6 separate regions of the Homo sapiens genome follow, and all the other regions are linked to region 6. Evidence: promoter capture Hi-C in 16 types of primary human blood cells and fetal thymus (Javierre and others, 2016). All regions are on one chromosome and are shown on one strand. Each heading gives the region's core, a stretch centred on a gene start or on the middle of the fragment in contact. The rest is flanking DNA. Distances are from core to core; before and after follow the strand shown. Region 1 has its middle 7.1 kb from the start of NDUFB11. Region 2 holds the start of RP2 (RP2 activator of ARL3 GTPase). Region 3 holds the start of TIMP1 (TIMP metallopeptidase inhibitor 1). Region 4 overlaps UBA1 (ubiquitin like modifier activating enzyme 1). Region 5 overlaps ELK1 (ETS transcription factor ELK1). Region 6 holds the start of HSD17B10 (hydroxysteroid 17-beta dehydrogenase 10).

What was found. The method cuts DNA at HindIII sites, captures the fragments that hold promoters and counts their contacts. A CHiCAGO score of 5 or more calls a contact.
Region 1: a fragment that was not itself captured here is called in contact with the fragment with the promoter of HSD17B10 in region 6 in 1 of 17 cell types (neutrophils); the score reaches 8.7 in neutrophils.
Region 2: the fragment with the promoter of RP2 here is called in contact with the fragment with the promoter of HSD17B10 in region 6 in 1 of 17 cell types (neutrophils); the score reaches 5.9 in neutrophils.
Region 3: a contact is called between the fragment with the promoter of TIMP1 here and the fragment with the promoter of HSD17B10 in region 6, in 1 of 17 cell types (neutrophils). The highest score is 5.7, in neutrophils.
Region 4: a contact is called between a fragment that was not itself captured here and the fragment with the promoter of HSD17B10 in region 6, in 1 of 17 cell types (neutrophils). The highest score is 6.2, in neutrophils.
Region 5: a contact is called between a fragment that was not itself captured here and the fragment with the promoter of HSD17B10 in region 6, in 1 of 17 cell types (neutrophils). The highest score is 5.8, in neutrophils.

The regions. Positions count from the first base shown.
Region 1 is chrX:47,136,231-47,138,930 of GRCh38, reverse strand. No RefSeq gene overlaps it. Among named protein-coding and RNA genes, the nearest start is that of NDUFB11, 7.1 kb to the left of the region's middle. The HindIII fragment of the contact is 4,112 bases long and covers 1-2,700 here.
Region 2 is chrX:46,835,597-46,838,296 of GRCh38, reverse strand. It overlaps RP2 (RP2 activator of ARL3 GTPase), which reads right to left and starts at 1,254. Exons shown (of 5, transcript NM_006915.3): 1 at 1,095-1,254. The coding sequence starts at 1,196. RefSeq lists an enhancer at 1,123-1,262 and a silencer at 1,573-1,652. The HindIII fragment of the contact is 11,862 bases long and covers 24-2,700 here.
Region 3 is chrX:47,581,105-47,583,804 of GRCh38, reverse strand. It overlaps TIMP1 (TIMP metallopeptidase inhibitor 1), which reads right to left and starts at 1,369. Exons shown (of 6, transcript NM_003254.3): 1 at 1,331-1,369; 2 at 269-397. The coding sequence starts at 389. All of the region lies in intron 5 of SYN1 (synapsin I), which reads left to right. RefSeq lists silencers at 1,412-1,511, 1,572-1,721. The HindIII fragment of the contact is 9,422 bases long and covers 537-2,700 here.
Region 4 is chrX:47,206,413-47,209,112 of GRCh38, reverse strand. It overlaps UBA1 (ubiquitin like modifier activating enzyme 1), which reads right to left. Exons shown (of 26, transcript NM_003334.4): 16 at 2,669-2,700. The region is part of intron 2 of LOC105373194 (a long non-coding RNA gene); the gene reads left to right. Among named protein-coding and RNA genes, the nearest start is that of INE1, 2.9 kb to the right of the region's middle. The HindIII fragment of the contact is 404 bases long and covers 1,205-1,608 here.
Region 5 is chrX:47,644,924-47,647,623 of GRCh38, reverse strand. The region is part of intron 2 of ELK1 (ETS transcription factor ELK1); the gene reads left to right. Among named protein-coding and RNA genes, the nearest start is that of ELK1, 4.3 kb to the left of the region's middle. The HindIII fragment of the contact is 5,498 bases long and covers 1-2,700 here.
Region 6 is chrX:53,432,940-53,435,639 of GRCh38, reverse strand. HSD17B10 (hydroxysteroid 17-beta dehydrogenase 10) reads left to right here and starts at 1,270. Exons shown (of 6, transcript NM_004493.3): 1 at 1,270-1,321; 2 at 1,754-1,918. The coding sequence starts at 1,295. The HindIII fragment of the contact is 11,572 bases long and covers 1-2,700 here.

The DNA of each region.
Region 1 (2,700 bases), core at 52-2,551, 6.3 Mb after region 6:
ACCTTGGCCTCCCAGAGTGCTGGGATTACAAGCATGAGCCACTGTGCCTGGCTAAGAATAATTCTGTGAACATTCTTGTACACATCTTTTGATAGACATATGTACTCATTTCTTGGGTATATAACCTAGGAATGGAATTGCTAAGTCATTGCGTAGACATGTGACCAATCAGCTTCAGTAAATCATGCCAATTTTCCAATCTACACTTTCCCAGAGTTGACTCCCCATCATTCGGCATTTCCCATCTTTTTCACTGCAGCCATTCTGGCGGATGACTAACCTTTTTTTTTTTCTTTTCTTGAGACAGGGTCTCACTCTGTTGCCCAGGCTGGAATGCAGTGGCATGATCTCGGCTCTCTGCAACCTCCTTCTCCCAGGTTCAAACGATTCTCCTGCCTCAGCCTCCTGAGTAGCTGGAACTACAGGCACCCACCACCACGCCCGGCTAATTTTGTTTGTATTTTTTTTTTAGTAGAGACAGGGTTTCACCATGTTGGCCAGGCTGGGGATGACTGACCTTTTAAGGACCACATTGGGATGAAGAGGGAGGGAGTGCCTACTGAGTGCCAAGCCCCAACAGTGTGCCAGGCACTGGCGGATATCAGGGTCCCTGCCCTTAGGAATTTCCCAGGATGAGGGCAGAGGCTGGTGTGAGTGATCAGAGACCTTAATACAATGTTTTCACCCTACTGTTCGACCCCAGGGACCTTTGAACTTTCATATTTTGGACGCAACTTTGTTCTGCCCACATAATAGATACTGGCCTCCTTTATCCTTCAATCTAATAGGACATCACCCAGAAAATAAAAATAGAACATCTTACCAGATTAACAGTGACTATTACCAATAAACATAAGCACCACAGAATAAACTGACAGCAGCCAAAACTGTGAACCTGAAACTGTGTTGAGGGAAAATTGATGGAAGTTTTTGATGTTCTCAACAAAATGTGGACCTGCAAATTTTGATCCTGAAATATTAGACTCAATGGAAACTGTCCACAAATAAAGCTCAGAATGACAGGAGGTATTCATTCAACAAATATTTATTGAAGTGCCTACAGGGTCCTAGGCACTGTTCCTGTTGTTTTGTTTTTATTTTTGTTTTGAGATAGGGTCTTGCTCTGTTGGTCAGGCTGGAGTGCAGTGGCATGACTATGGCTCACTGCAGCCTGGACCCTGGACTGAAGCGATCCTCCTGCCCAGGCACTGTTACAGGCAAAGGGGATACAGCAGGGAACAAAAGATTTAAAAATGCCCGCCCTCATGGAGCCTGTATTCCAGCTGGGAGAGACAGAAAATAAACAGCACAATTTGTGTGTTATATGTATGTAGGGAAGTGATAAGTATGGATTAAGTTAAAAATAAATCCAGAGGCTGGGTGTGGTGGCTCACGCCTGTAATCCCAGCACTTTGGGAGGCTGAGGTGGGCAGATCACTTGAGGCCAGGAGCCTGAGGCCAGCCTGGGCAACTGGGCTGGGCATGGTGTCACACGCCTGTAATTCCAGCTACTCGGAAGGCTGAGGTGGAGAATTGCTGGAGCACGGGAGGCAAAGGTTGCAGTGAGCTGAGATCGGGCCACTGCACTCCAGCCTGGGTGACCGAGCAAGACCCTATCCCAAAAATAAATAAATAAGTAAATCTGGTAAGGGGGGTGTCAGGGAGTTGGGGGGAGAGGAGAACCTGAATTTAAATAGGATAGTCAGCAAAGGTGATTACTTGAAGGAAAAAAATGTGAAGGAAGCCAGAGATGAACTACACAGATGCAAGAGCATTTCTGGCAGAAGGAACAATAAGTACCAAGTTCCAGAAGCAAGAATGTATGTGCCTGAGATGGTCAAGGAGCAGCCTGAGGCCAAGGAGCTATCTGAGGGAAGCTGTTACTGCTTGAATTTGACACAGATAAGAGAATCAATGTATGGATTGAATCATCGTTGCAAAAATTAACCAGAAAATGATCACGATGAAAATAACTTCAGAGAAATGAGACAGCCAAAATTGGTTTTGGGTTAACTGCACCACTGTATGGCATTGATCAAGGAATTAAATTGGCTCAGGAGAATTCACTCCGGTTCAAAGTTGCTCAGTAAAAATTCACCTGAGTTGAGTTGGTCTAATTCCAATTTTTTTTTAAATTTTTTTTTTTTTGAGACAGAGTCTTGCTCTGTCACCAGGCTGGAGTGCAGTGGTGGCACAATCTCGGCTCACCGCAATCTCTGTCTCCCGGGTTCAAGTGATTCTCCTGCCTCAGCCTCCCGAGTAGCTGGGACTACAGGTGCGTGCCACTACACCCAGCTAATTTTTGTATTTTTAGTAGAGACAGTTTCACTATGTTGGCCAGGATGGTCTCCATCTCTTGACTTTGTGATCTGCCTGCCTCGGCCTCCCAAAGTGTTGGAATTACAGGTGTGAGCCACCGCCCCGGCCTTTTTTTTTTTTTTTTTTTTTGAGATGGAGTATCGCTCTGTCGCCCTGGCTGGAGTACAGTGGCAAGATCTTGGCTCACTGCAACCTCCACCTCCCGAGTTCAAGCGATTCTTGTGCCTCAGCTGACAGAGTAGCTGGGACTACAGTCGTGCACTACCATGCCTGGCTAATTTTTTGTATTTTTAGTAGGGACAGGGTTTTACCATGTTGCCCAGGCTGGTCTCAAACTCCTGGGCTCAAGCAATCCACCCGCCTTGGCCTCCCAAAGTGCTG
Region 2 (2,700 bases), core at 5-2,504, 6.6 Mb after region 6:
GCTGAGAAAAGCTGCAAAAAGCTTTCAATTTCCTAACTCTGACTCTTAGAGACCAGAGCTTACCTGAATACATTCTGCTGGGGATTGGAAATCATGCAGAAAGGTCTGTGATTCCAAAACGTTAATACATTTATTATAAAGTAATCTTGGGTAAAGATATGTTGCCTTAAGCAAAGAGTTAACTGTTCATAATACCCATTTGAAAAATCTCTCATTTTGTTTGGGAGAAATAATTGATAAGTCCATCAAAGTAGTTTAGTAAGCACAAATGGAGAACTATGTAGAAAGAGGAACTATTATGAAATGTATGACCGAGTGTGTTTTGTGTAAGACTAATGGAGGTTTTCAAAGGTTTTTCGTTTCTGGCTATATACAAAAATAAAAATAAGGGCGTTTTCATTCATTTAAACCAGCAGTAAAATACTGCCTGGTTTATGCCGCTTATTTTCACCTTACAGTCTTAATACACATTCCAAGACTGATGCGATATTCATTATTTCTTTCGGATAACTGGAAGAGGAGGGGGAGTAAAGCTGTACATTAAACAGTCCACTTGGTAATTGAGAAAATTCAGCAGTGAAATATATCATGAGGCACCAAAGAGATTTGCCGGGGAGGGCAGACAAAAGAGAAAACAGCCACAGAACATTAAGCCCCGGAAGAGATGAGAATCGGTCCCATATACGTAACTCGACGACTGGACAAAACCCCGCTTGACGCTGCCGGTGGGTGAAACGAGGTGATTTGAGATTCAGGGCGTTCTCGGCTCTTTCCCTCTCTCGAATCGATCATCTCCAACAGGAAGTCAGAGCAAGGCAGGGTTCGGAGTCAGAGAAAGCTCCCGGGGGAGTCTGTCTACCACGACAACAAACTCCTAAGGCTCCTTCCGGAGCTCCACAGCCCTCTGGGCGGCCTCTCTAGCGCTGTACTTCACGTCCCCGCTCCCCAAAAAAGTCGTGCACCCCGACTTCAGCTATCCGCGTTCAAGAGAGTGCGGCAGCAGTTGGGTCGGCCCCCTCAGCGGTCCCGGGCCGTAAGGGACCTGGCGGAGCGGCTCAGGGAGGCTGAGACGGCGGCTACACGACTTTCATTACCTTCTCGCGCTGATCCCAGCTGTACTGCTTTGGCCGCTCCTCCTCGTTCTCGGGCCGCGACTCCTTGTCAGCCTTCCGTCTCTTGGAGAAGAAGCAGCCCATGGTCCCAGCCCGCGGAGCTCGTTGGCCAGCTCACTAGCTCAGGCACTTCCTAGAGTGTGGCGTGAACCCTGGGAACCCCGGCCTCGCAGCTCTCCGGACAACGCCCCGCGGAACCGCCCAACGGTCCGCAGCCTTAGTTTGCCCGCCAGGCCCAGCACCCCTTCCCCTTTTTCGTCGCCCTGACGACCCAGCGCAGCCAATGAACGCTCAGCGCCTGTTGAGCCAATCAAAGCCTCTCGAGCAATCCTGCGCGGCCTATGAAGAGAGGCCGACATACCCACATACCAATCCACGCCTGGCTCCTGCGACAGCCCCTGGCGGCGGGGCGGGCCGGCTCTGGCGCAAGCACGGACAACCCCGCCCACAGCTGTGGCACGGACCGCCCTCGGCCCCGCCCCTCCTGGAACTTGGTGGGTTCTCTAGCTGGTGGGAGGCCAGGCTCGGTATCCGGGTTTTTTTTGCCCCTGATTCATAAATTTGCAAGTTCAAGGCGCGGGAGAGATCTCTAGTTGAACATTAGATTTATCTTATGATGAAAGTTGTGAGGGACAGAAATTCCCGCTGACACAAGAAGACCCTGAAATTTGTATTTCTAAATCCTCTTCTCCCCTCATCACCCTTCCTACCGCCCTCTCATCGCCTGGCCAGGGTCACCCCCTCAAGAATTGTACCCCATAACCTCCCAATCCTCTTCTGTGCTCTTTCTTTCTTTCTTTCTTTCTTTCTTTCTTTCTTTCTTTCTTTCTTTCTTTCTTTCTTTCTTTTTCTTTCACAGGGTCTCGCTATGTCACTCAGGCTGCAGTGGCACAATCATAACTCACTGCAACCTTGCAACTTTGCAACCTTGACTTCCTGGGCTCAAGCGATCCTCCTGCCTCAGCCTCCTTCCTGAGTAGCTGGAACTACAAGCAAGCACCACCATGCCCACCTATTTTTTTTTTTTTTTACTTTTGTAGAAATGGGGTCTTGCTATGTCGCCCAGGCTGGTCTTGAACTCCTGGGCCCAAGCGATCATCCTGCCTCAGCCTCTCAAGGTGCTGGGATTACAGGCAGGACCCACCGCACCCCAGGCTGCTTCTGTGTTTTCTTAAGACTTTCACATATGGCTCTAAAATTGCACAAGTACTTAGTAAAATAGTTAATTGTGTATTGTTTCCCTATTTGAACTGTGACTTTCTTGAGATCAAAAAGGTATATCTTTTTTTTTTTTTTTTTTTTTTGATGGAGTTTTTGCTCTTGTCGCCCAGGCTGGAGTGCAGCAGTGCCATCTCGGCTCACTGCAACCTCCGCCTCCCGGGTTCAAGTGATTATCCTGCCTCAGCCTCCAGAGTAGCTGGGACTGCAGGCGCCTGCCACTACGCCCGGCTAATTTTTGTATTTTTAGTAGAGACGGGGTTTCACCATGTTGGGCAGGCTGGTCTCGATCTCCTGACCTCAGGTGATCTGCCCGCCTCGGCCTCCCAAAGTGCTGGGATGACAGGCATGAGCCACCGCGCCTGGCCTA
Region 3 (2,700 bases), core at 120-2,619, 5.9 Mb after region 6:
CCATCCTGAGAAGGTGACGTTTGAGGCAGCCACCCATGTGGATACCTGGGGGGAAAGTGTACCAGGCAGAGGGAGCAGCCAGCATGCAGATCCTGTGGTGGGCTTGGGCACAGAGTACTCAAGGAAGTGTGAGGATGCCAGTGTGGCTAAAGCAGAGGAAGTGCAGGGGCGAGTGGAATCATTCTAGAGGTAAGTGCCATGGTGAGCCCCACTGGACTGAAAGGGAAACCAAGGCAGAGTGTGTGGGCTGAGTGGGGTGAGGACTCACCGAGGTCGGAATTGCAGAAGGCCGTCTGTGGGTGGGGTGGGACACAGGTGCAGGCCCTGCTGGGGGCTATCAGCCACAGCAACAACAGGATGCCAGAAGCCAGGGGCTCAAAGGGGGCCATGGTGGGTTCTGTGGGGAAGGGGGATGTCAGGCAGGCCCCGGCCCAGCTGATCTGCTGACCTGGGCAGGTCATCCACCCCATCTTGCCCCGGGGCAGCCTATGGGGGGGATTAGGGGGCTGGATTTGGGCTTGAGGGGTTGGTAAGCTTAGGGATTTTAAGGGGATTGGGGAGCGCAGAGGAATTTAGGGTTTAGAGAGTTGGGAGAGTTTAAATTATTGAGGGACTGAGTGAGTTGCGGGGTTATGGGGTTGTGGCACTTGGGGGAGAAGGGGGCTGAGGAAGTTTGAGGAATGAGGGGATTGGGGAATTCTGGAGGTTGAGGAGTTTGGGGGTGAGGAATTTGGGATTGGGGGCTGGAGGAGTTTGGAGACGGCAGAGTTTAGGGGTTGTGTATATTAAGAGATATAAGAGGCTGGGGGAATTTAGGGAGGTTGAGGAATTTGGAGGAGGTTGGGGGTTTAGGGAGCTGGGGGAGTTTGGAGGTTGAAGGGGTTGGGGGAATTTGGGGGCTTAAGGCAATGGGGATACTTGAGGAATTTGAGGGCAAAAGAAGTTTGGGAGCTGGGGAACTGGGGATTGGGGAGCTGGGGGAGTTTAGGGAGCTGCAGGGGTTAGCGGTGGGTATTTAGGGGGCGATGAGGGAAATTTCGGGATGAAGGAATTTGCGGGGGGATTTGGAAAGCATTTGTGATATTAGGGGGTCATGGGTTTGGGGGAATTGGGGGCGGATGTCAGGGGTTCTAGGGAGTTTGGAGCCTCGGGGTTGGGAAAGCAGTTCCAGCCTCCGACCCTCTTCCCCCTAGACTAGCCCAGGGTCCTGGTACCCGCAGGCCAAGCTGAGTAGACAGGCATCTGGCACGGGAGTGCACGGGCCTGGTGGCCAGCACCCAAGCTGCAGCCCAGCTCCGGTCCCTGCTGGGCCACCCCGGGCCCTGCTTACCTCTGGTGTCTCTCTGGGCGCTGGATCTGCGGCGATGGCGGCAGGGCCTGAGCGCTAGAGGATAAATGTCCACGCTAGGGGCGGGGGTGGCAGCGGGTGCGGAAACCACAGGCCTCCAGGCTTCCTGGATGCATTACTCATCCACCCACCATCAGTGCAGAAGCCAAGGGGCGGGCCGACGAAAGGAGATACACCCTCCTCCTCTCCCACCCGCCTCCTCTCCCTCTCCCTGGGCCTCGCCCGGGCCAGCCACCTCCCCCACCTCCACGTCAGTCACTATTCCTTCCAAGCCGCCTCAGCGGAGAGCTTAGAGGCCGCATTTCCCCCGGCCCAGTCCCCTAAAGTCTCCAGAATCTATCCAATCACCCACATCCCCCAAGCTCCCTATGACTCAAACCCAAATTAGTTCAGCCCTTCAACATTTATTGTGCATCTACTGTGTGCCAAGCACACAAAAATCCCTTGTTTTGTATGTCTGACATGCTGGTGAGGGGTGGCAGAGAGGAAACAAATTAAGTAGCAGCAGTGGAGGGAGATAAGGCAGGTGAAAGGGGAGGAATACAAAATGGGGAAACTGAGGCACGGAGTGGTTAAGTGACTTACCCAGGATCACAGAGTCAATACATGGCAGAACTGAGACTGGAACTCAGGTGGCCAGGAGCCAAAGCCAGGGTCTCAAATAACACAGGCAAATAGCCGGCATTTATACAGCACCTACTGTATACCAGGCACTCAGCATAGTTTATCTCACTCAAAGCTCACAACAAATCTCTGAGATGGGTACCGGTTCTTATTCCCGTTTTACGGATGAGGAAATATGGGGCGTAGAGGAACTGTAGAATTTTCCTAAGATCACAGGGCATGGCCGGGATTCAAACAGAGGCTACCTGGCACCAGGGTTGTAACTCAGGAGTGGCACCGTCCTAGCAAGCAGGGAATGGTGCGGGTGAATGAATGAGCATTGGGAAGGGGGTGGCCATGAATGATGGTGAAAGAAGCAAGTGAGTGGGTCAGTAGAAAACTAATCCCCACCCCATCCTGCCCTGCCCCCTCCCCATGGACCTGTACCCCTGGTGGGGGGTGGGGTGGGGCAATCCTTGCCCACCAGCTTTCTGACAATGCAGGAACCTTCCCTGGGGTTCTGATTAACATCCTTAATTCGAGGAGGATAGATCAATAATAATAATTGTAGTGATGATGGCAGCCACTTATTGAGCACTTTCTGTGTACTATGTGCTAAAGTGTTTGTATAAATTATCTCATTCACTCACCATACTCCCTTGCTAATTAAGTTTGATTAACTCAGGGATGATAGCCCAATAACAAGAACACAACAAAAACTACCAGCAGCCCTTATGGAGTGCTTACTG
Region 4 (2,700 bases), core at 157-2,656, 6.2 Mb after region 6:
AAACTGTTTTGTTTTGTTGTTTGAGACAAAGTCTCACACTGTCACCCGAGCTGGAGTGCAGCGATGCAATCACGGCTCACAGCAGCCTTGACCTCCCAGGTTGAAACGATCCTCCCACCTCAGCCTCCCGAATAGCTGGGACAGCAGGCACATGCCACCACACCCGGCTAATTTTTAAGATTTGTTGTAGAGACAGGGTCTTGCTATGTTGCCTAGGCTGGTCTTGAACTCCTGGGCTCAAACAAACCTCACTCCTTGGCCTCCTGAGTGCTGAGATTATAGGTGTCAGCCGCCATGCCCAGCCTAAAAATGTATTAAGATCTGAGTGCCAGGCGAGGTGGCTCACGCCTGTATTCCCAGCACTTTGGAAGGCTGAGGCAGGAGAATCGCTTGAACCTGGGAGGCGGAGGCTGCAGTGAGCCGAGACTGCGCCACTGCACTCCAACCTGGGCAACATGAGCAAAACTCCACCTCAAAAAAAAAAAAAAAAAAATCTGTGTACCTTATTCTAGATATGTTATGCCTCCATAAAAAATAAAAACTTCAATTAGGTATATCTTACCACAGTTTTTTAAAACACAAAAAACTCAGACCAAACCAACAATGATCCCTATCCAGGCCCTGAGGACTTGGCAGAAAACAAGACAGAGGCCGGACACAGAGGCTTACACATGTAATCCCAGCACTTTTGGAGGCTGAGGCAGGTGGATCACTTGAGCCCAGGAGTTTACAACCAGCCTGGTCAACGTAACGGGCACGCGTGCGTGCGCACACACACACACACACACGTACACACACTTACACGTACACACAGACACTTACACACACACACACACACACGTACAGACACTTCCCAGGAGTTGGAAGGTTGCAGTGAGCTATGATTGTGCCAATACACTTCAGCCTGAATGGCAGAATGAGACCTGTCTCAAAAAATAAAATAGCAAACAAGACAGAACTTCTGGCCTCTGAGAATTCCTAGGACAGTTCGCAGTCATTAGCGAGGTGGTTTGGAGTGTACAGATGTTAGAAATTCAGGTTCAGATTCCAGCTATGCCACGTATTACCTAGTTTTGTGACTTCAGGCACACAGGATAACATCTTTACCTCTGTGCCTTGTCTCTAAAACAGGTGTTACAACAGTGATACCTACCTTCATGGGGTTGCTAGGAAGAAATGAGCAAATACATATATATTTAAAGCTTGGTTAAAACAGTGCCAGGCACACAGTAAATGCCAAGTGGTTCACAATAGTCCTGTGAGGTAGATGCTGTCATTCCCATTTTACAGAACAGGAATCTGCGGCACAGAGAGGTTAAGTTCAAGGTTACACATGACCTAGCAAGACTGTGGTTGGTGCACAAATACAAACATACCCACTCTGGAACTGCAGTGTCAGAAGGGAGAAAGTGACAGATGGAACTGTTTTTTTTTTCCCTTCCCTATTTTGTTCCCACCCTCATACTCCTACTATTCTAAATGGTTTGGCCTCAAACACTGCACTAAGAATTATTCTGACAGCACAATGGTAATCCCTAGGTTCTGTTTCTTGGCCCAGGTGGTGGTCACCTGTGTGTTCACTTTGTAAAACTTCAGCTAGATCAAGCTTGTCTAACCTGTGGCCCATATGCAGCCCAGGATGACTTTGAATGCTGCCCAACACAAATTTGTAAATTTTCTTAAGACATTATGAGATTTATGCACGGATCTTTTTTTCTTTTATTTTTTCAGCTCATCAGCTATCGTTAGTATTAGTATATTTTATGTGTGGCCCGAGACAATTCTTCTTCCAATGTGGCCCAGGGAAGCCAAATGATTGGACACCCCGAGCTAGATAATATATGCACTGTTCTGTAGATAAATGCACCATACACACAGAATCATCCTGACAAACCAGCTGTTAAACTCATTTTGAGTAACAGCTGGGGAAAACCTGAATATGGACCATTAGAGACAAATAAATAACTAGAAGAGATGGTAAGAATGATTGTTAATTTTGCTGAGCATGAAAATGATGTTTCTGTTAGACAGAAGTAGTTCTCAACTGGGAGTGATGTGGCACCCCTGGGGACATCTGGCAATGTCTGGAGACATTTTGAGATGTCATGATGGAGGGAGAGTGCTATTGGCATCTAGTGGGCAGAAGTCAGGAATGCTGAGAAACATCCTACAGTGCACAGGGCATCCCCTCTCCCATGACAAATAAATAACCAGCCCCAAATGTCAGTAGTGCTGAAGCTAAGAAACCCTGTTCTACAGCAACATATCCTCACTTGGCAGAGGCACTGAAATAGTAGGGAGTAAAGGGCTGTGATGTCTGTGACACATTTAAGCACAAAGAAGAAAAATCTACATAAATCTAAGAAGAAAATGTGGCAAAACATTAAGAATTGTTAAATTTAGGTGAGGAATGGTATTTGAGTATTCATCATAATATTCTTAATATTTGTCTATGTGTTGAAAAAAAAATCAAAATAAAAGTGAAAAAAGAATGAGTCATTCTAGAAACCTAGGCTGCCTGGTGGGAAGTGAGGGAGGGAGGTTTGGAGAAAAGGCACATCTTACACTTAGGCATGCAACATCTGAAGGCAAGGCAAGGGCCTGGGGGCGGAGAGGCAGCAGCCTGGCCAGATGCCTGGCCTCTTTCCCTTCTCCCACAGCTTATCACCTGCAGGGTGTGCTCGATGGCATTAGGGAAGT
Region 5 (2,700 bases), core at 181-2,680, 5.8 Mb after region 6:
GAAGGGATATGAGAGCTAATTAGTTGGGACTGTTCCTGCAACCAACCTTTACTGAGCCCCTTGTGAGTACCAGGCACTCTTCTAGGTGCTGGAATATGGCAAGGAACGAAACAGGGCGAAATATTTGTGCTTGTGGAGCTGACATTTATTAAAAGTTGGGGAGGCTGGGCACGGTGGCTAACACCAGTAATCCTAGCACTTTGGGAGGCTGAGGTGGGTGGATTGCCTGAGCTCAGGAGTTCAAGACCAGCCTGGGCATCACGGTGAAACCCCATCTCTACTAAAATACAAAAAAATTAGCTGGGTGTGGCGGCGTGCGCCTGTAATCCCAGTTACTTGGGAGGCTGAGGCAGGAGAATTGCTTGAACCCAGGAGGCGGAGGTTGCAGTGAGCCAAGATTGCACCATGCACTCCAGCATGGGTGACAGAGCGAGACTCTGTCTCAAAAAAAAAAAAAAAAAAACCCAAGCTGGGGAGACAGACTATGTGAACAAAATAAATAAGTAAAATTAGCATAATAGACAAATGCTGAGAAGAAATAATGAAATAGGGCAGGTAGGAATCGAGTATTGGGGGTGGTTGAAATCTTAGGCATAGGGAAGGTGACTCTTGAATTAGGGCCTCACGGTAGAGACGGAGAGAGCCTTAATGTCTACGGGAAGAGCATACCAGGCAGAAGGAAGTGCCAGTTCAGAGGCCCTGAGGTGGGATGGTGCCTGCCATGTTCAAGGAACATCAAGGCGGCCAGTGTGGCTGGAGCAGAGTGCGGGGAAGGGTAGAAGGTGAGGTCACACAGGTGATGGGAGCCAGATAGTGCAGGTGATACATAGGATAGGATTGCAGGGGCAGGGGGAGAAGGATGACACACTAGCTAATAGCTAATATCTGTGGAGTATCTGCCACACATCAGAGGCACTTTTCTGTTCAAATACCAACCCCCAAAGGATGTTTACCACACGGTGGTGCCTGGAATGCACTACAAAAAGATACATGTGTCAAAGATATTTCTAAGAATGCCAGTTTATATATGAATAAGGATTTTCCTCCTTTTCAAAAGGATATGTTCACAAAACTGAGGTATGTAATATGCTCTATGGAGGCACAGGTATAAAAGCTGTTTCTAAGAGTGCTAGTTGTATATGTGAATAAGGACTGTGTTGTTGCATTGAAAGAATGTGTTCACAAAACTGTGGTGTATAGCTGGGCACAGAGGCTGAGGTGGGAGGATCACTTGAGCCCAGGAGTTCCAGGCCAGCCTGTGCAACATAGTGAGATCCCCGTCTCCGAAAAAAAACCCAAAAAATAACCACTGTGGTGTGCATAATACACTCTCCTAAAGGCACAGGCATAAAAGATGTTTCTAAGAGTGATTTGATTTTCTGGCACCTGGGTAGTGTTATTTCAGTAAATATTCATTGTTAAACACTATGGTGCTTGGAATATACTATACAAAGGCACATGTATAAAAAAGAAGTTCCTAACAATGCTACTTGTAAAAACAAAAAAAAAAGTCAACCCCTCAAGTCTTTTACAGAAGTATTTTACAGAATTGACACAGTTAATCCTCACAGAAGCCTTGGAGGGTAGGTGTACTTTTGAGAATATTTGACTTTGAGAGTAAAATATCCCCATTTTACAGATGAGGAAACAAGCAAAGAGAGGCTGAGTAACTTGCTCAGGGTAACCTTGAGCCAGAATAGCCAGAACAGGGGCAGAGGAACATAAGGCTGAAGACTCAGAAAGAAGAACAGATTTGCAAGGGCAGGCAGGTTATTTGGCACCTTTGATCACGCAGAGGAAGAATGAATTCTTCCTGGAATGCGATGATTGTGTAATTGAGTCCATGAAGTGAGGGAAGAGCTCTCCCTGCGGGGAGAGCAGCCCGTGCTTACCCTCAGAGGTTGGAACTGTCTCGGGAACGGTAGATAGTTCAGGGTGGCTGCCTCAGAGCCTTTGTACACGCCGTTCGCTCCGCCTGAAGGCCCTCCCCCACAGAGGGCAGCCTGGCTTGCTACCTCCCCTCCTTCAGGCCAGGTGTCACTTCCTTGGGGAAGAACTCCTTGTACACCCTGTGTAAAAACAGCATTCCTGTCACTCTCTAGGATCTTACCCTTCTCTGTTTCTCTTCATGGAGAACTGGTGGTGTAAGGCGATTGCTCACTAGAGCCAAACCACTTAGGTTTTGAATTCCGGCTCTGCCAACTTCCAGCTGTGTGACTTGGGGCAGGTTACTTCTCTGTACCTCCATTGCCTCATGTGGAAAATGGGGGAAATGATAATCCCCACCCTTTAACGGTGGTTTGAGGATTCAATGAGTTAAATGATTCAAAGAGTGTGCAGCCCACGGTAAGGATCGTATGCCTGGCTTGCATTTTTAAATTATTAAAATGTATTCATAGCATACCCGTAGATGTCTGACAGGCCTCTGAAACTGACCATCTCCAAAACTGGTGTGACCCCCCTCAAAACTTACTCTCCTGCAAGGCTCCCACCTCAGCTGACCACAATGCTGTCTTTGTGGGTGATTAGGCCACAAACCTAGACTCACCCTGGACCCTTCTCTCACCTCCCCCGGGCATGCTATCTGTCAGCAAGTCCTATTCTGTGTTCAGGCTTTCTCCAGACCCCAGCTACTTCTCGCCAGCCCCACTGCTACCACCATCATCTACCGCAGTGGCTTCTTCAGCCCCAACAGTCTGT
Region 6 (2,700 bases), core at 21-2,520:
CAGTCATGCAAAGATCAGGGGAGAGCATTCCAAGCAGAGGGAGCAGCTAATGCAAAGATGAACACAAAGGAGGCCACTGTGGCTACAGCATATTGGGCCGGATGAAGAGTGCTATAAATTGATGGAAGCACTTCATGTAGATAGGAAAATTGTGAGACCGGTGTGCTAAATCCTTTGGTAAATACGGTGTAGTGATTATGAGTGTGGTGGCTGTCAACAACTAGAAGGCCTGGAGGGGAATCTTCCTGGGTGAGAAAGCAAGTGGGGGGAGATATTTCAGATAGAGAAAACATAAAGCAGTTCTGAGGCTGAAATGGTGGGCTAAGATTTATGGCCTGAAGACCTTGGTTTGAGGAAAAGTATAGAAGGAAGACAGATTAGATATCTGGGCTCAAGACTCTAATGACATAGCTTCTGGAAGCTGCCTGAAAGATGTTCTAGGATGACAAAGACCTGGGTCTTAAATAATAGTCTCTGGTTGAAGTCCAATCTGCAGTGTGTGATCTGGGCTTTTGGACTTAAATTAGACAAAGATAGAGGAGAGTAGCAAAGCCTGAACTGATGAAAGATGTTTTTGCCTCTTTAGGTTTGTGCTTCTCAGCAGCTGTCCTAGAATGTCTGTCTCCAAGCATCTCTCTTAGCGGCTTTCCACATTCATCTCTCTGTGATCCTACCTGGCATCTCTCTTCCTATCTCGGCCTCAACATATTTCTCTTTACATGGCTCTCTCTCTCTCTAACTCAGACTCCTCATCTTTGGATCTCCTTGTCTGAGTGTCCCAGAATCTGGTTCCGTCCATTCGTCTGTGTCTGTACTGTAATTCTCTTTCTCCACCTGGACTGTGCCCTCCTGGAAGGCATGAATCTTTTATTATTCCGCTGGGTATCCCAGGTGCCCCGCACACCGTCTAGCATATAGGAGTCTCAAATACATTCATACTTGAATTAAGACTTTTTCAGAGGAGAAAGGCATCCGTTCTCAATATCCACCCCTCTTCCCCCACGCGGAGCAGGCCACTTGCCAAAAGGCCAGCTAGAGAGTAGGGCGAGGGGTGTTGTGGTATTGTACTTCTGCTATTGGTCTCTTTCCCCAGTTGAAATAACTCTGGGGATACCTTAGCAGGCGGAATCCGCCCTCTGGCCAAAGGACTAGCGTACCAGGCCACGCCCCCACGTCTCATGCGGCAGCGGCAGACGCCCCGGCCCGTCGCATCCGCCCCTTCCGCCGCTTCGCCTCGGCCAATCAACGAGCGCCCGCGCCCCCATCCCCATCCCGTGGAGTGGCCGGCGACAAGATGGCAGCAGCGTGTCGGAGCGTGAAGGTAGAAGGTTCTTTGCCTCTGTTGCTTGCCTTCCTTTACGGGCCGGGACAGCGCGGCCGTGGAACTAGGAGAAAGAGATCGGTTTCGAGGGAAAGGGTCATGCTTATGTAGGCCTGGTATTGTGGCCGTTGGGCTCAAGAGGTGAAAGTCAGCACTCCGCGGCGCATCTGTCTGTCTGTCTGTCTGTCTATCTATCTATCTATCAATCATCTATCTATCTATCGTCACGGGACGGGCTGTCTGGGGATGAGATCCCTTCTGCCCCCGAGGTCCCAACGCTGAGGAGAAGCAGCACACCTAGTTTACCCGCAGGGGTGACCACGACCTCTCCCCTCCCCCCTTCTCCTCAGAAGCCTGGAGAACAGGCAGGCGACAGCGTGGGGATGGTCTGGGCAATGTAACAGCTGACCCTGACCATGTCCCTTTTGACAGGGCCTGGTGGCGGTAATAACCGGAGGAGCCTCGGGCCTGGGCCTGGCCACGGCGGAGCGACTTGTGGGGCAGGGAGCCTCTGCTGTGCTTCTGGACCTGCCCAACTCGGGTGGGGAGGCCCAAGCCAAGAAGTTAGGAAACAACTGCGTTTTCGCCCCAGCCGACGTAAGTGGGGTCACCTCTCCTCTCCCAGGGTGTGCATGAGGTCACCAACACCGGCCTGGGAACCTGTGGGGGTCCCTCCCATAAGGGTCTCCTCTATGGGGGCGGTAGACCCATCTCCTTGTCTCTTTTGGCCTGAGCCTTCAAGCACTGTGGGACCACCTGTGATAAGGATTCTCTAAAGCTGGGATTCACAACAATGAGGATGGGGATTGGACGTAACAATCTCCTGGAGGAGTTATGTATGGTTTGAAAATGCATTTTGTGCCTTGTAATTTTATATTTACAAAGTCAAAAAACTTGTTTTCATGAAACAAACTACAGAAAGTGAAACTTGATGAAATCATCTTAGCAGGTAAGGATACAAAAAAGCTAGTTTATCTTCCTATCAATAATTCTCACAAGAGGGTTATTTTTTATTTTTATTTTTGAGATGGAGTCTCGCTCTGTTGCCCAGGCTGGAGTGCAGTGGCACAATCTCAGCTCCTTGCAACCTCCATCTTCTGGGTTCAAGCGATTTTCCTGCCTCAACCTCCCAAGTAGCTGGGATTACAGGCACCTGCCACCACGCCCAGCTAATTTTTTTTTTTGTATTTTTAGAAGAGATGGGGTTTCACCATGTTGGCCGGGCTGGTCTTGAACTCCTGATCTCACGTGATCCGCCCGCCTCGGCCTCCCAAAGTGCTGGGATTACAGGTGTGAGCCACTGCACCCAGCCTCACAACAGGGTTGCATTAGTGCTCTGATCCACAGCAATTAAGAATCTTCAGGAGCATGTGAATTTA